Regions from separate parts of the Homo sapiens genome. Here region 1 is linked to region 2. The links are contacts of gene promoters, found by promoter capture Hi-C in human tissues and cell types (Jung and others, 2019). All regions are on one chromosome and are shown on one strand. Each heading gives the region's core, a stretch centred on a gene start or on the middle of the fragment in contact. The rest is flanking DNA. Distances are from core to core; before and after follow the strand shown. Region 1 overlaps HMGXB3 (HMG-box containing 3). Region 2 holds the start of RPS14 (ribosomal protein S14).

Region 1 (6,886 bases), core at 3,917-6,416, 420 kb after region 2:
ATGTAAAAGACAACTGATATCACATTCTGACAGGCTAGAGGTAAAACTGAATAAATAGAGCGATAAACTGGGAGAAAACTGTCAACAAAAAAGACCAAAAGAAGAATGAAAACACAAAAGAAATTTACTATAGAAAAAAACCCATAAAGGATCATAAAAAGGACATATACTCTACCTACTACAAAGAAATACAACAAATTACCTGATTATACACAAGTTTTTACCTATAAAATTGATAAACTTAAAAAAATTATAATATTTACAAAAACAAAGTCAACAGACAAACTTAATTATACTTCTATACTAGCAATGAATAGCTAGAAATTGAACCATGTCATTTAGCACTGAAAAAAAAAAGTAAAATACTTATATGTAAGTCTACCAAAATATGGGCAGGACCTATATGCTGAAACTAGAAAAACTGACAACCTATTAAAATGGAGAGAAAGACTATGGACTGGAAGATTCAACATTGTTAGGCATGTCAAAATTTCCCAAATTGATGTGTACAGATTGAACACAATCCAATTAAAATTCAAGCAGGACTTTGTAGATATTGACAAGCTGACTCTACAGTTTATACGGAGACACACCTATTAGAATGGCTGAAAAACAAAAACAGATAATGCTAAGTACTGGCATGTAGAGCAAACTGTAACTTTTACCCATTGTGGGAAGGAATGCAAAATGGTACAGCCACTTTGGTAATGCAGTTTTCTTATAAAATTAAACACACACTTACCACATGACCCAGCAATCTGACTCCTAGGTATTTACCCAAGAGAAATGAAAACTTAGGTTCACACAAAAGCTGGTACACAAATATTTGTAGCAGCTCTATTTGTAACTGCCAAACACCGGTAGCAAACCAAATATCCTCCCATGGGGAACAGCTAAACAACCTGTGGTACATCCACACCACAGAAAACTACTCCACAATAAAAAGGAATAAATCACTGATAAACACAATATGGATGACTCTCAAAGGATTAACTTACTGAAAGAAGCCAGACTCAAAAGGCTACGTGCCATAATTGCTTTCACATGACATTCTGGGAAAGAGAACACTATATGGATAAAGATGAGATCAAACAGTTACCAGAGGTTGGGGGAGAGGGATGGGTTTAAATACAAAGGAACAGTAAAAGAGAATGTTTTGGGTGATAGACCTGTTCTATATATTGATTGTGAAGGTAGTTACACCACTTAGTGCATCTGTCAGAACTTATGGAACTTGGAGCAACACACTTAACTACATGTAAATTTTAAAATACATGTTGACTAAATAAATATATAATCCTGAGTACTAGCCTGGATAGACAACAGGGTAATAGGCACTTTTGTTAACTGTTGGCAAGAGCATAAAATAGTACAAACTCAATCTAATAATATAAGACATTAAAAACATGAATTCAAAATAAAGCACCATTAAGTTCTAAGACAAAGAGAATACATCAAAAATACACTTTCATCTTCAGCACTCAATTCTACAAACAAAACTTAGGATTCAACCAAAGTCTTAAAATGGCTGGTACACGGTGAGTGTTCCACAAATGCCTGATGTTGATGAATAATAGGGGAGGAAAGGGTAAATGTGCAGCAATTCCACTTCTGAGTATTTGTCCAAAAGACAAATTAGGGCTGTACACAAAGACTGAATCACAAAAGTGTAAACTGGAGCACCATACATCCCTATAAAAATGGTCATGTACTTCTCTACTTGCTGGCACAGGAAGATGCCCACAATGTACCCCTAAGTTTAAAAAGCACATTCCAAAACAACATCTAGCACAACCGTACTTTTGTTCAAAGAAAGACTATAAACCTATACATCCTATAATTTCTTATATTCTGCACAGATGAATAAACATTTCTGGAAGATTGATCACACTGTTAAATAAGTGTTTATCTCATGGCAGTAGCAATGCTCTTGATTTTTTGTTTCCTCTTTTTATTTGTCTGCATTTTCCAGCCCTTCCACAATGAAGATCTGTTATTTTAAAGATCCCAGTTGAGAGCTTCAACACTTGAGAGGTAAAAGTCATCTTGTGGGACTAAGACATTTAGGAAGAAGACTCCCCCTTCCTCAGAAGCCCCATCTGAGAAGGCCCAGTCCTCAAAGGGCCAGAGGTCTCATCCATAGAGGCAGTTCCCAAGCCTGCTTTGGGATGCTCTGAGGGAAGAGAAGGTTGGCACCCACCTGTGTAGATGTCTATGAAGCTGTGCAGGGCCAGACAATGGGGGTTCAGACACATCTTCACCTGGGCAGTCACTGTCTGCAGACGGCTGGCTGTCAGCAGCCAGCACTCCTGGGGCCCAGCCAGGGAGCTAGTACCAGAAACATCACCAACAAAAAAAAAGAAGGGAAAGAGACTTCTTTATGGAGTTCCAGGGCTCAGTGATCAATGGCAAATTCTCATTTGCTGGAGCTTAGGATTTTCTAGGTAGGTATTTCCACTTTGTTGGAATCTGTGGAATCATCCCTACAATTAATGTAACTCTGAATTTATTACATAATTTAACCAATCCCAATGAACTCCCAAACCTAAACATTGTGTGGGGCAGTCCAGATGTAAACTAAATCCTAATCTGGTGATAACTTTCAGGCATTTCAACAGAAATGATAATTACCAATTATTACTTTACTTTCAGCAATCAGAAAGTTAAAGGAAGCCTAAAAACGGCAGAGAATAACATCTTCACAGTTATAGTTTTAATGTTTTCTGAAGAAAAGAGCAGTATGAGCCAAATGGGATGGGGTAGCTAGGGGCAGAGTTAAGGGGTGCTTACTTTTGTCCCCCTTTGAATAATGGGCTGCTACAGAGAAGGCACTGCGTGGACGGAGACTCATAATAATTCGACCAAGAGGTTTGCTCGATGGTGACTGTCTCCTCACTCACGTTGGACAAGATAAGTCGAGAGCTGTTGAGTTCATGAATCAAGGCGAAGACCTCAGCCAGCTCTGACTCATTCTCAGGAATCTGCAGGACTTTGCGCAGCAGCTGCAGTGTGGACTGGCGCTGGATCTCCCTCTGGGCTGTGCTCAGGGGCTCTGTGGCATTCAGTACATCTGGGAGTGGTGAGCTCACCTCCTGGGAAGAGAGTGGATTGATCACCAAGCACTCAGAGCAGAAAGAGCCAGCTTCAGGCTAAAATAATAAAAGTCTGGGAGCAGCAGACAGATGGGGCCCATGACTGATAGGTGGCAAACCTAGGTTCCTAACCAGCTCAGCTAATAACTCACTGTGTGACTAAAGGCTGGTTATTTTTCTCTGTGGGGCTCAGTTTCTCTACAGGTTGAGCACCCCAATCCAAAATGCTCTGAAATCTGAAATTTTTTGACCACTGAGACAACATTCAAGGGATATGCTCATTAGACATCTCAGATTTTGAATCACTGGATTAGGGATGCTCAAGCAGTATGTATTCTGCAAATATTGCAAATTATGAAATAATCCAAAACACTTCTGGTATCAAGCACTTCAGATACAGGATAGTCAACCTGTATCAGTAAATGAGAGGATTATATACAACTCTTGGTAATGGATTCAACACTTAGCTCTCATTCATCAGGTATGGGGTTTAGAGGATAACAGACCCAGGTTTCAGTTCTGGATATGCCACTTAACAGCTGTGTATGTGGGACCCAAGGCAATTTACTTAATCTTTCTGAGTCTCAATTTCCTCATCTGTGAAATGGGGCATAAAAATAGTAATCTCTTAGAGCCATTATACAGATTAAGTAAGATATTATAAGTAAAGCACTTAGCACAATGCCTATGGTGCAATGAAGGCTCTATGAATGATAGTTTTGATACATAAACAAGTATCTGCACTGCTTAAAGTTATCTGTCTTTAATTCTCGGTGGCTTCTGGGTACAAGGTAATTTTGTATACCAGTCAGAGGCTTCCAGGAACAATGTTCTGAAATACTCATTAAAAATAGGTCTTTCTCAAGCAGGTCTCTCTTCAATGGAGCTTCTCCCTGATCCTTTTTGCCAAGGCAGCATAAATCACTCCCCGCTTTGTGTTCTCTGAGTGCACCCCTTGACTGCAGAATTCATCATCTGACAGCTGCTAAACCACCACCCTCCCCGCTTCAGTAAGGGTAGGATTCTGCTTATTTACTGATTCCCAACCAGCATGATGCCTGAGACACACATAAGATACTGATTCATATGTGATGGACATATTATACATGGCTCTGTAGAAGTTAAATGCTTAATGCTATAGTTTGGATGTTTACCGTCTCCAAATCTCATGTTGAAATGTGATCCCCAACGTTGGAGGCAGGTCCTAAAGGGAGGTACTTGGGTCAGGGGGGCAGATCCCTCATGAGTAGATTATCGTGGGGCAGGAGCAAGGGAGGTGGTGAATGAGTTTCGCTTCCTTTTTCTGTATGTGATCTCTATGCATGCTGGCTCCCCTTGCCTTCCACCATGAGTGGAGGCAGTCTGAGGCCCTCACCAAAAAAGATGTTGGTACTATGGTTCTTGTACAGACTGCCAAATTATGAGCCACATAAACCTCTTTGCTTTATAAATTGCCTAGCCTCAGGTATTCTTTTATAGCAACACAAAACAGACTAGGACACTTAATAAGGAGCTTTTTATTAACTCCGCATACCTATGACAACTTTCATTTGTAATAGCTTGGTTATCTTTCTCTCCCACTAGACTGTAAGCTCTTCAAGGGAAAGGGCCACGTCCTATTCATCTCTGAAAGCCTGGCCCATAGCAGGCATTCAATATAGGCTGGCTGAGAGAATTAATTAATCAGTGGCTACAGAAGAGCTGACTAACACTAGAATGAGCTGCCCCGAGAGGCTGTGTGTTCTCAGTCATGACTATGAAACCACAGCTGGAAGACCACTTGGCAGGAATACTGTCCCGTGACTCTCGCCAGAGATGAAGGATAGAAAGGACTAAAGACCATTCCATCTCAGAGATGTGAAAACATCTGGCTACCAGGGGGCTCCAAATGACAACACACAAGAAGATCCCTGTGGTTCTGACCAGTGCTTTATTTTCTGGAAAGCAGTAATTACACTGTATTTCTCCAAACTTTAGGAGATTGGAAAGTGATGGAAGGTCTGCAGATGAGGGTCCTGGGGGTGGGCAGTTCTCAGTTAACCAAATACAGATGGATATAAGTTTAAGAGTGGGATTTGAAATTGGCAAGAGGTCCCTAGATAATTTCCTATGTCACCTGAGAAGTTAAGTTCCTTCATCATCCTAGATCTAGAGAGTAACACCCACTTCCACTGCAAACCGCGCAAATAGCTAAAATGAACTGGAAGGAGAAAGGAATGCTCAGAGCTTCTACCTACACAGAACTCAATTCTATCTCCTAATTACAGATAGACACACTTTGTATATGTAAGCTCCAGGGTTAGAAGGTGCAGGAAAAACAGACATACCTGCCCTAGAAGAGATTGTGGTCTCATAGGGAGTTAAGAAAAGCAGTCAATATGGGGTGTGATCAATGCTATGGCAAGAAGAGCACTTTGAAACCCACTGAAAATCCGGGAAGAAAGCTTACTTCCAGCAGCAGGCATCCAGTGGAGCAAGAGAATCTGATGAAAGCTACGGACCCATTTTGCATGCAATTTCAGGGATTTATAAACTCCTTAAAACTCAATTATCAGTCTTCTCTAAGGCTCCTGTCTCTTAAGAGTAAAATGCCCAGATCTAATCTACCTTGCCCACCTTACTTTACCAATGGAGAAACTAAAGCTCGGGAGAGGGAAGCTTCCAACTCAGGGTCACTCCCAGCCCCAGTGTTTTTCCCACCAAGCCATTAGTGCCCACATACTTTGGTTCCACTTTCCTTTCTCACAAGGACAATAACCTCAGAACATCACCTCAAGCACGGAAACAGACTCTGGAGACCAGGGTGAGATTCATCATCAAAAAGGCCTCTCTCCATATACAAATAAACCTCTAAGCTTGAAGCAGTTCTCCCCACCTCTGTAGTCCTGTCTACTCCCAAACTCTCATCCCATAAATTCCCCTCTTGAAATAACTTTCCTCTAGGCCTCTCCCCGGCTCAAGGACATTCAGTAGGACCCCACTGACTAAAGAACAAACTGACAAGACCTTCCATGACATGGTTCCAAGATGCTTTTCACGTCTTATTTTCCGTAACACCCCTTCTCCCACCCCATGCCCCCACGCCATCTCCTCCAGCCAAATGGAACACTCTTCATGTTCACTCACACTTATCCTTATCACTCACACTTATCCTTATCCATACTCACACTTCATGTTCACTCACCAGACTACAGTCTAGTGGGAGAGACTTAAGTATGGCATGCCTTCCCCTTCCATTCAAAACCTGCCTGCCTTTCAAGGTCCAGCCTTGATCTGGAGTGACCAGGCTCCATCTCAGGTCCTGACCTGTTCTGTGTGCCATCCCCTCTTTCCCCAAGGCAGACCAGTGACATTTCTCTTCTCATCCTTATTTTAGTCCTTCCATTTGCTGCCTCAAGTGCCACCATTTTCTGTTCACTTTAAAAAACTCATATGGAAATTCTGGGGACCTCTGAAAATGCCCATTTTTCCTGGTAATAGTAATAATAATAATAGCAGCCCTAAGGAGCCAAGTGGAATGTATTTTACTACCCAAGTAGTTTGGCCCAACTTCAGAGAGGAGGGCTGCCTAGACTGCTAGAAATAAAGCTTTGATTAACTAAAAGCTTTCCAAGGAGCCTGAGAAAGCAGCGGTGGTCTAATCTGCAAAGTCTCAGGTTGGCATTCTCTATTTACCGAAACAGTAAATCAACTTACAGGTCTTGTATCAGGCCTCAGCGGTAAGAGGATGCAACCCTTTCGTCCCTCTCCTTTCACTCCTACTTAAGGCCTGTGCTACATCATTCTCTGCAGTG
Region 2 (7,474 bases), core at 3,798-6,297:
CATACTGCTCCCTCTGCCCATAACCATCTTCCCTTAGATACCTGCAAGGCTGGCTCCCTCTCCCACCTTGTGGGGAAAAGAGAGATCAGACCATTACTGTGTCTGTGTAGAAAGAAGTAGACATAAGAGACTCCATTTTGTTCTGTACTAAGAAAAATTTTTCTGCCTTGAGATGCTATTAATCTGTAACCCTACCCCCAACCCTGTGCTCGCAGAAACATGTGCTGTGTCGACTCAAGGTTTAATGGATTTAGGGCTATGCAGGATGTGCTTTGTTAAACAAATGCTTGAAGGCAGCATGCTTCTTGAAAGTCATCATCAATCCCTAATCTCAAGTACCCAGGGACACAAAACACTGCGGAAGGCTGCAGGGACCTCTGCCTAGGAAAGCCAGATATTGTCCAAGTTCTCCCCATGTGATAGTCTGAAATATGGCCTTGTGGGAAGGGAAAGACCTGACCGTCCCCCAGCCTGATACCCGTAAAGGGTCTGTGCTGAGGAGGATTAGTAAAAGAGGAAGGCCTCTTTGCAGTTGAGGTAAGAGGAAGGCATCTGTTTCCTGCTCGTCCCTGGGCAATGGAATGTCTCGTTGTAAAACGCAATTGTATATTTCATCTACTGAGATAGGAGAAAACCGCCTTAGGGCTGGAGGTGAGACATGCTGGCGGCAATACTGCTCTTTAATGCACCGAGATGTTTATGTATGTGCACATCAAAGCACAGCACCTTTTTCTTAACCTTGTTTATGACACAGAGACATTTGTTCACACGTTTTCCTGCTGACCCTCTCCCCACTATTACCCTATTGTCCTGCCACATCCCTCTCTCCAAGATGGTAGAGATAATGATCAATAAATACTGAAGGAACTCAGAGACCGGTGTCATCGTGGGCCCTCCATATGCTGAGCGCCAGTCCCCTGGCACTCTTTCTCTATACTTTGTCTCTGTGTCTCTTTCTTTTCTCAGTCTCTCATCCCACCTGACGAGAAACACCCACAGGTGTGGAGGGGCAGGCCACCCCTTCACCACCTCACAGCTCTGCTCAAATCACTCCTCAGCAAGGCTGCCTGGCCCTCTCTGTTTAATTCAGCCACCCACCCCACCCCTTTCCTCAGACCTTCAGTACCCTTCGCCCAGCCTGACTTTTTCTTTCTTCTTCTTCTTCTTTTTTTTTCTTTGAGATGGAGTTTCACTCTTGTCGCCCAGGCTGGAGTGCAACAGCGCGGTCTCAGCTCACTGCAACCTCTGCCTCCCAGGTTCAAGCTATTCTCGTGCTTCAGCCTCCCAAGTAGCTGGGATTACAGGCACCTGCCACCACCCCCAGCTAATTTTTGTATGTTTAGTAGCGACGGGGTTTCACCATGTTGGCCAGGTTGGTCTCAAACTCCTGACCTCAGGTGATCTGCCCACCTGAGCCATGCAAGGTGCTGGGATTACAGGTGTGAGCCACCACACCTGGCCAACTTTTTCTTCTTTCCACAGGACTGACCACTTTCTAACAAAATAGGAAGCTTACATAGACATTATGTCTGCTCTTCCTTCCAGAATGTAGACTTTGAGAGGGTAGGGACCATTGTTTTTGTCACTGATGTATCCCAAGTATTTACAATGTCAGACACATCCTAGGTGCTCAGTGAGTGCTCCCTGAGTGAGTGTGTGAGCTCTGAGAGGGGAGGGTAAGTACACCCCTGTGCTGGCAGTGTTGACAGCGCAGGGGTGCGGTGGGGTGGGGAACGCAGACATGGCAACAGTGAGGTGAGGCCCCACGGAAAGTGGCTGTGCTGCCCCTCCAGCCTCAGCCCCCATTCCTCTTCCCTTATTCACAACACCCCAGTACTACTGGCCATTTTTTAATTCCTTGAGTTCTCCAAACACCTACCCACTTCAGGGCCTTTGCATATTCTATTCTCCCTGCCCAGACCATTCTTCACACCTTCACGTAGCTAATTCCTACTCTACTTTCAAGTCTCAGTTCAAATGCCATGATTGTATCTCAGTGCCTGACAAAGAGTAAGCGTCCAATAAAGGTACAGGTTTTTGGCTGGGTGCGGTGGCTCATGCCTGTAATCCTAGCACTTTGGGAGGCCGAGGCTGGTGGATCACCTGAGGTCAGGAGTTCAAGATCAGCCTGGACAACATGGTGAAACCCCGTCTCTACTAAAAATACAAAAAATTAGCCAGGTGTGGTGAAGGGCGCCTGTAATCCCAACTACTTGGGAGGCTGAGGCAGGAGAATTGCTCGAACCCGGGAGGAGGAGGTTGTGGTGAGCTGAGATCGTGCGACTGCACTCCAGCCTGGGCGACAGAGTGAGACTCTGTCTCAAAACACAAAAGATACAGGTTTTCATTACACATTTTAAAAATATATATATTGGGTCTCACTATCGCCCAGGCTGGAGTGCAGTGGTGTGATCACAGCTCACTGCAGCCTTCACCTCCCAGGATCAGGTGATCCTCCCAAGTAGCTGGGATTATAGGTGCAGGTCACCATACCTGGTTAATTTTTCTATTTGTTGTAGAGAAGGTGTTTCACCATGTTGCCCAGACTGGTCTCCAACTCCTGAGCTCAAGTGATCCTCCTGCCTCAGTCTCCCACAGTGTTGGAATTATAGGCGTGAGCCACTGAGCCCTGAAGTTTTCAACATACATTTAAAAATGTACTATTATCGGCCAGGCGCGGTGGCTCACATCTGTAATCTCAGCACTTTGGAAGACCGCGGGGGCTGGATCACCTGAGGTCAGGAGTTCGAAATCAGCCTGGGCCAACATGGTGAAACCCCGTCTCTACTAAAAATACAAAAAAAAAAAAAAAAAACTACCCGGGTGTGGTGGTGTGTGCCTGTAGTCCCAGCTACTAGGGAGGCTGAGGCAGGGGAAGGCAACAGTGAGACTCTGTCTCAAAAAAAAAAAAAAAAATGAATAAAAATAAAAATATGCTATTATCATCCCATTTCACAGATGAGAAAACTGAAGCCCAGAGAGGTTACAATTTTTGCCCAAAGAACCATAGCTAATAACTGCAGAAACAATAAATATGTTGATTAAATAAAGTGGAGTTTGAAAGCAGTGACTTTGATGGTTTCTGGGATAAAGATAGGCTTCCCTGTGGAAAAATTTGTCCTGAGGTGATTGTGTGGGCTGCCTTCAGCCATAAGATCAAGGCTTGCTCCCTCCATGAAGCCACATGAGGTTTGGAGGTCTGTTTAATACAACTCTTAATCAAAGCGGAACTCACTCCACAATACTCCAGTCTCTGCTAACATACTGGGAAGCTCATTAAAACAAAAAAGCCCTCTCCTTCAAAAAATACAGACATTTCACAGAAGAGATGCAAATGGTTAAAACAATCCGTAAAGAGATGTCTGACGTCACTCATCATCGAAGAAATGCAATGCAACGAGAAGGTATGTTGAGGCTGGGTGCATTGGCTCACGCCTATAATGCCAGCCCTTTGGGAGACCGAGGCGGGTGGATCACCTGAGGCAGGAGTTCGAGACCAGCCTGGACAACATGGTGAAACCCCGTCTCTACTAAAAATACAAAAATTAGCCGGGTGTGGTGGCGCACACCTGTAATCCCAGCTACTCGGGAGATGAGGCAGGAGAATCACTTGAACCCAGGAGGCGGAGCTTGCAGTGAGCCAAGATGGCGTCACTGCACTCCAGCCTGGGCAACAAGAGCCAGACTCCGTCTCAAAAAAAAAAAGAAGGTATGTTGAGTTTTTCAGTTTAGCAGAATAAATTTTTTTTTTTTTTGAGACAGGGTCTCGCTGTGTCACCCAGGCTGGAGCCACGGGATATATTTATATATTTAAAATATATTTATAATATTTATATAGTATGTAATACAAAAATACTATATATATTCCATATAAATATTACATATAGTACATAGATAAAATGTATCTACCGCTTGCCTAGCTCTGTGAGGTACACTTCTTGGCCCTTCCCCACAGCTCCGACATATTCTCCCAAGCCTTCAAGGTCCTTCAATATTGTTATTAGAGGCTGGGCACGGTGGCTCACGCCTGTAATCCCAGCACTTTGGGAGGCCGAGGCAGGTGGATCACGAGGTCAGAAAATCCAGACCACCCTAGTCAACACGGTAAAACCCCGTCTCTACTAATACACACACACAAAAAATTTGTCGGGCGTGGTGGCACGCGCCTGTAGTCCCAGCTACTTGGGAGGCTGAGGCAGAATAGCTTGAACCTGGGAGGCAGAGGTTGCGGTCAGCCGAGATTGCGCCACTGCACTCCAGCCTTGGCTACAGAACAAGATTCGGTCGAAATATATACATGTATATTGTTATTAGAGGGCTATGTGGAAGTAGCTATTAAACACGAGGGCTTTGAAGCTAGAATTCCAAACCCTTCTGCAAAGGTGTGCTCTCAGTTAACATCCTTTATCTGTAAGAGGGAAATCAAAATTATTTGATAATGTCTTGAGGAGTAAATGAAGCAATGCATATAAACTGTTTAGCCCAGACCGGTCTGAAAATACATATTGAATAATTTATTCTTATTTTGCCCATTATATAATATGCCAAAGTAAGTGATTACGGTGTGTTTTCCCCGACTATGTTGCCTAGGCTGGCCTCGAACTACTTGGACGAAGCGATCCTCAGCCTCCTGAGTAACTGGGACCACAGGCCGGCGCCACCCTAGCTTTAATTAAGGCCGTTTTGTTGTTGTTATTCCCCTGCTCCACACAAGGGGCGCTGCCGCTCCAAGGCTGCCAGGGCGGGAGTCAGGATGGCGGAAGTCTGTCTAGCCACGACCACCGCCATCATGGAATACAGGCCCACCTCACCCCGCGGGTGTAGCCGCTTCGTACTGTCGCTTAGGCCGACCCGCTCGCAGCGACAACCAGCCCTCTACCTCTTTTCGCTCTCCCTTAAGTAATAAACCGTCTTTCCTTATGACGAGTCTTAAACTCTTTGGGAGGAATAATGCCGGCGTCTTCCGGAACCCGACCTCGCCCCGTGACCTCAGAGGTATACTTCCGGGACACGGAAGTGACCCCCGTCGCTCCGCCCCCTCCCACTCTCTCTTTCCGGTGTGGAGTCTGGAGACGACGTGCAGGTAGGAGGCCCGGGCGCGACAATCGGGGGGCATCCTGCGGCGAGGGGACCCTGTGGGGCTTGGGACGAGAGACGGGGGTCTTTCCGTGGGAACCGAGCTAGGTGCCGGGCAAGAGACGCGCGGCTGGCCCACCTGGATCCTGGCCAACTCGGGATTGAGTTCGTTCCTGGTCTCAGAAGGCCCGTTTTGCTTTCAGGGAGGAGCTTGTGAAGTAAGGGTGAGTGCGGGTCCAGCCTTTTAAGGCCTCGGCCCCGCAATACGGCCACGGCCACGGCCGCGTTTGAGCTGCACAGCGTAGTTGAGGGAACCCGGGACAGACGTGGGCTCCCGCCTCTACCTCGCCAAACTTTTTTCTTGGTGATCGCAGGCCCACGCCTAATCTCGTTTGTTTCCTCGTTTGCAAAATAGGAATAACAATAGCACCGATCCCATGGGTTTGTAGTGATCATTCAAAGAAGGAAAGCAGGGAAAACTCTCGCACTATGTTGGATGCTTCTAAATCTGGGCGATTCTTTCCGTTGCTGAGTCGGGCACGTTGCAAGTTCTGGGCGCTCAGGGCCCAGCACCAATGTTTGCTGTGCGCTTGCCCTGCGTTTATATACTCCTGATGACCACTCTGCTCGTTACTTTAGGGGATGTTAGGAACGGAGAAACTGCAAATTGGCATTTACTGAATGGCCATCATGCCGAAACATACTCATGCTTACGTATTTGAGATATGCTGGAGCCTTTCTATGCTTCTCGAGGCAGAACTTTGGGCTTCTCTCCTGTGGCGCGTTCCTTACAATAGTTAACGCACTGGGTCGTGCTCATTGGTCTGATTTGAAGATAGGAACATTTAACTTCGTACACCCAAGACTTACACTTGAAGTACTTACTGTGGTCACACACTTAACTAAAGTTTATATAGGGAAGGCAGAGGAGAGATCTAGGAACACCTGAGACAGACTAGGGTAGTTATTTGTGGTGTAGAGGCATCTTGGCAGGAGGCAGAGAGTGCTGGGCTGGGAGTCAGGACACGTTGTTTCTATGTTTGGTTTTGCCACTGTCTTTACTGTGACCATAGGCTGAGACACTCTCTATCTTCACCATCTGCAGGATATCGATTAGTGTTAGTGTCTTCTGAAAATGTTAAATTGTTCTGAACACCAGGAGGTTCAGAAGGCCTGGGGCTTTAGGCCGGAAGCAGTCTTATCCTAGCCTTCCACTTTCTCATTCATTCTCACCCGCCTTCCTCCTGTCAGTTTCTCTCTCCCTTAGATCTTGTGACAGTATGATTGCAATTATTATGAAGGTCATAATAGGTTAGAGTTATTTAGTCTCAGGACCCATCAGATTTCTGAGATGGGTCTTTTCCATTAGCCTGCCTTTTGGATATATTTTAGTGCCTTTGATATTTGATGTTGGTGACAAAGATTTAGTTCTAAATAGTTGTGGGAGTCAAATCAGTTGCATTTTTGAACATTTTGAAGGGATCAGGTGGAGCACAGGAAAACAGGAGATGAGAGGCTTGAGGGCTGTGTTGGTAAGGGTCCCTTGAATTCTAAGCTGAGGAGTTCATGCAGGAATCAAGCAGCTCCCTCGCCCCATGAAGGGTGTTAGGAATGGTACCAGTACATGGGTAGCTGTTGGTCTTGGGTTTCTTCTTGCCTTTTGGGGTGCAGCCTTCAGGCATCTGCTGCTAGATCCCTAGGCTTCTATCTTGTAGGTGCTGTGAGCTGAGCTGTTGGTAGTTTCTGGGGAAAGGATACTTCTCATGGTACTTTGCCATGTGGCCACAGTTGATACCCCCCCAAGTGCAAGGAGAAAGAAGTTTTAGTGAGGCAGAAATGAGAGAATACAGTAGAGTATTGGATGGAAGAAGACAGGGACATGAAGCAGGACTAGGGTTTCATTTAATAGCCAGGGGAAAGGGATTCTGGAAATGTTTTGTCTGTTAACCTTGAGTTTCTTTTCCTTCCACTCAGAAATGGCACCTCGAAAGGGGAAGGAAAAGAAGGAAGAACAGGTCATCAGCCTCGGACCTCAGGTGGCTGAAGGAGAGAATGTATTTGGTGTCTGCCATATCTTTGCATCCTTCAATGACACTTTTGTCCATGTCACTGATCTTTCTGGCAAGTGAGTACCTGGGTGGAGAGGCATCCAGCTGGCAAAAGGCTGAGGAAGGCAATGGCTGGGACGGGCTAGCAGTTCAGGGGATTCTCTCTAAAGAAATGCTGTTTTGTCCAGGTAAGAAAATGTGCTTGTCCATTTAGCCCACAAATATTGTGATTTCCCAGGGGTTACAAGAGAGGAGACACATTCTTCGTCCTTACAGCGTGATGGTCATTGAATCCTTGGTTTCTTGGGAATTATCTTCTTTCCCTAGTTCCCTTTGCAGGAGCAGCAGTG

Evidence for each region. The method cuts DNA at HindIII sites, captures the fragments that hold promoters and counts their contacts. A contact is called where the count stands out against the background at its distance.
Region 1: a fragment that was not itself captured here is called in contact with the fragment with the promoter of RPS14 in region 2 in 1 of the 25 tissues and cell types used here (mesenchymal stem cells).

What each region holds. Positions count from the first base shown.
Region 1 is chr5:150,032,842-150,039,727 of GRCh38, reverse strand. HMGXB3 (HMG-box containing 3) reads right to left here. Exons shown (of 20, transcript NM_014983.3): 12 at 2,791-3,092; 13 at 2,201-2,328. Among named protein-coding and RNA genes, the nearest start is that of HMGXB3, 36 kb to the right of the region's middle. RefSeq lists enhancers at 4,132-4,341, 4,462-4,511. The HindIII fragment of the contact is 6,609 bases long and covers 1,862-6,886 here.
Region 2 is chr5:150,447,312-150,454,785 of GRCh38, reverse strand. RPS14 (ribosomal protein S14) reads left to right here and starts at 5,047. Exons shown (of 5, transcript NM_005617.4): 1 at 5,047-5,083; 2 at 7,051-7,201. The coding sequence starts at 7,053. RefSeq lists a silencer at 444-644 and enhancers at 4,659-4,978, 4,592-5,530. The HindIII fragment of the contact is 12,843 bases long and covers 1-7,474 here.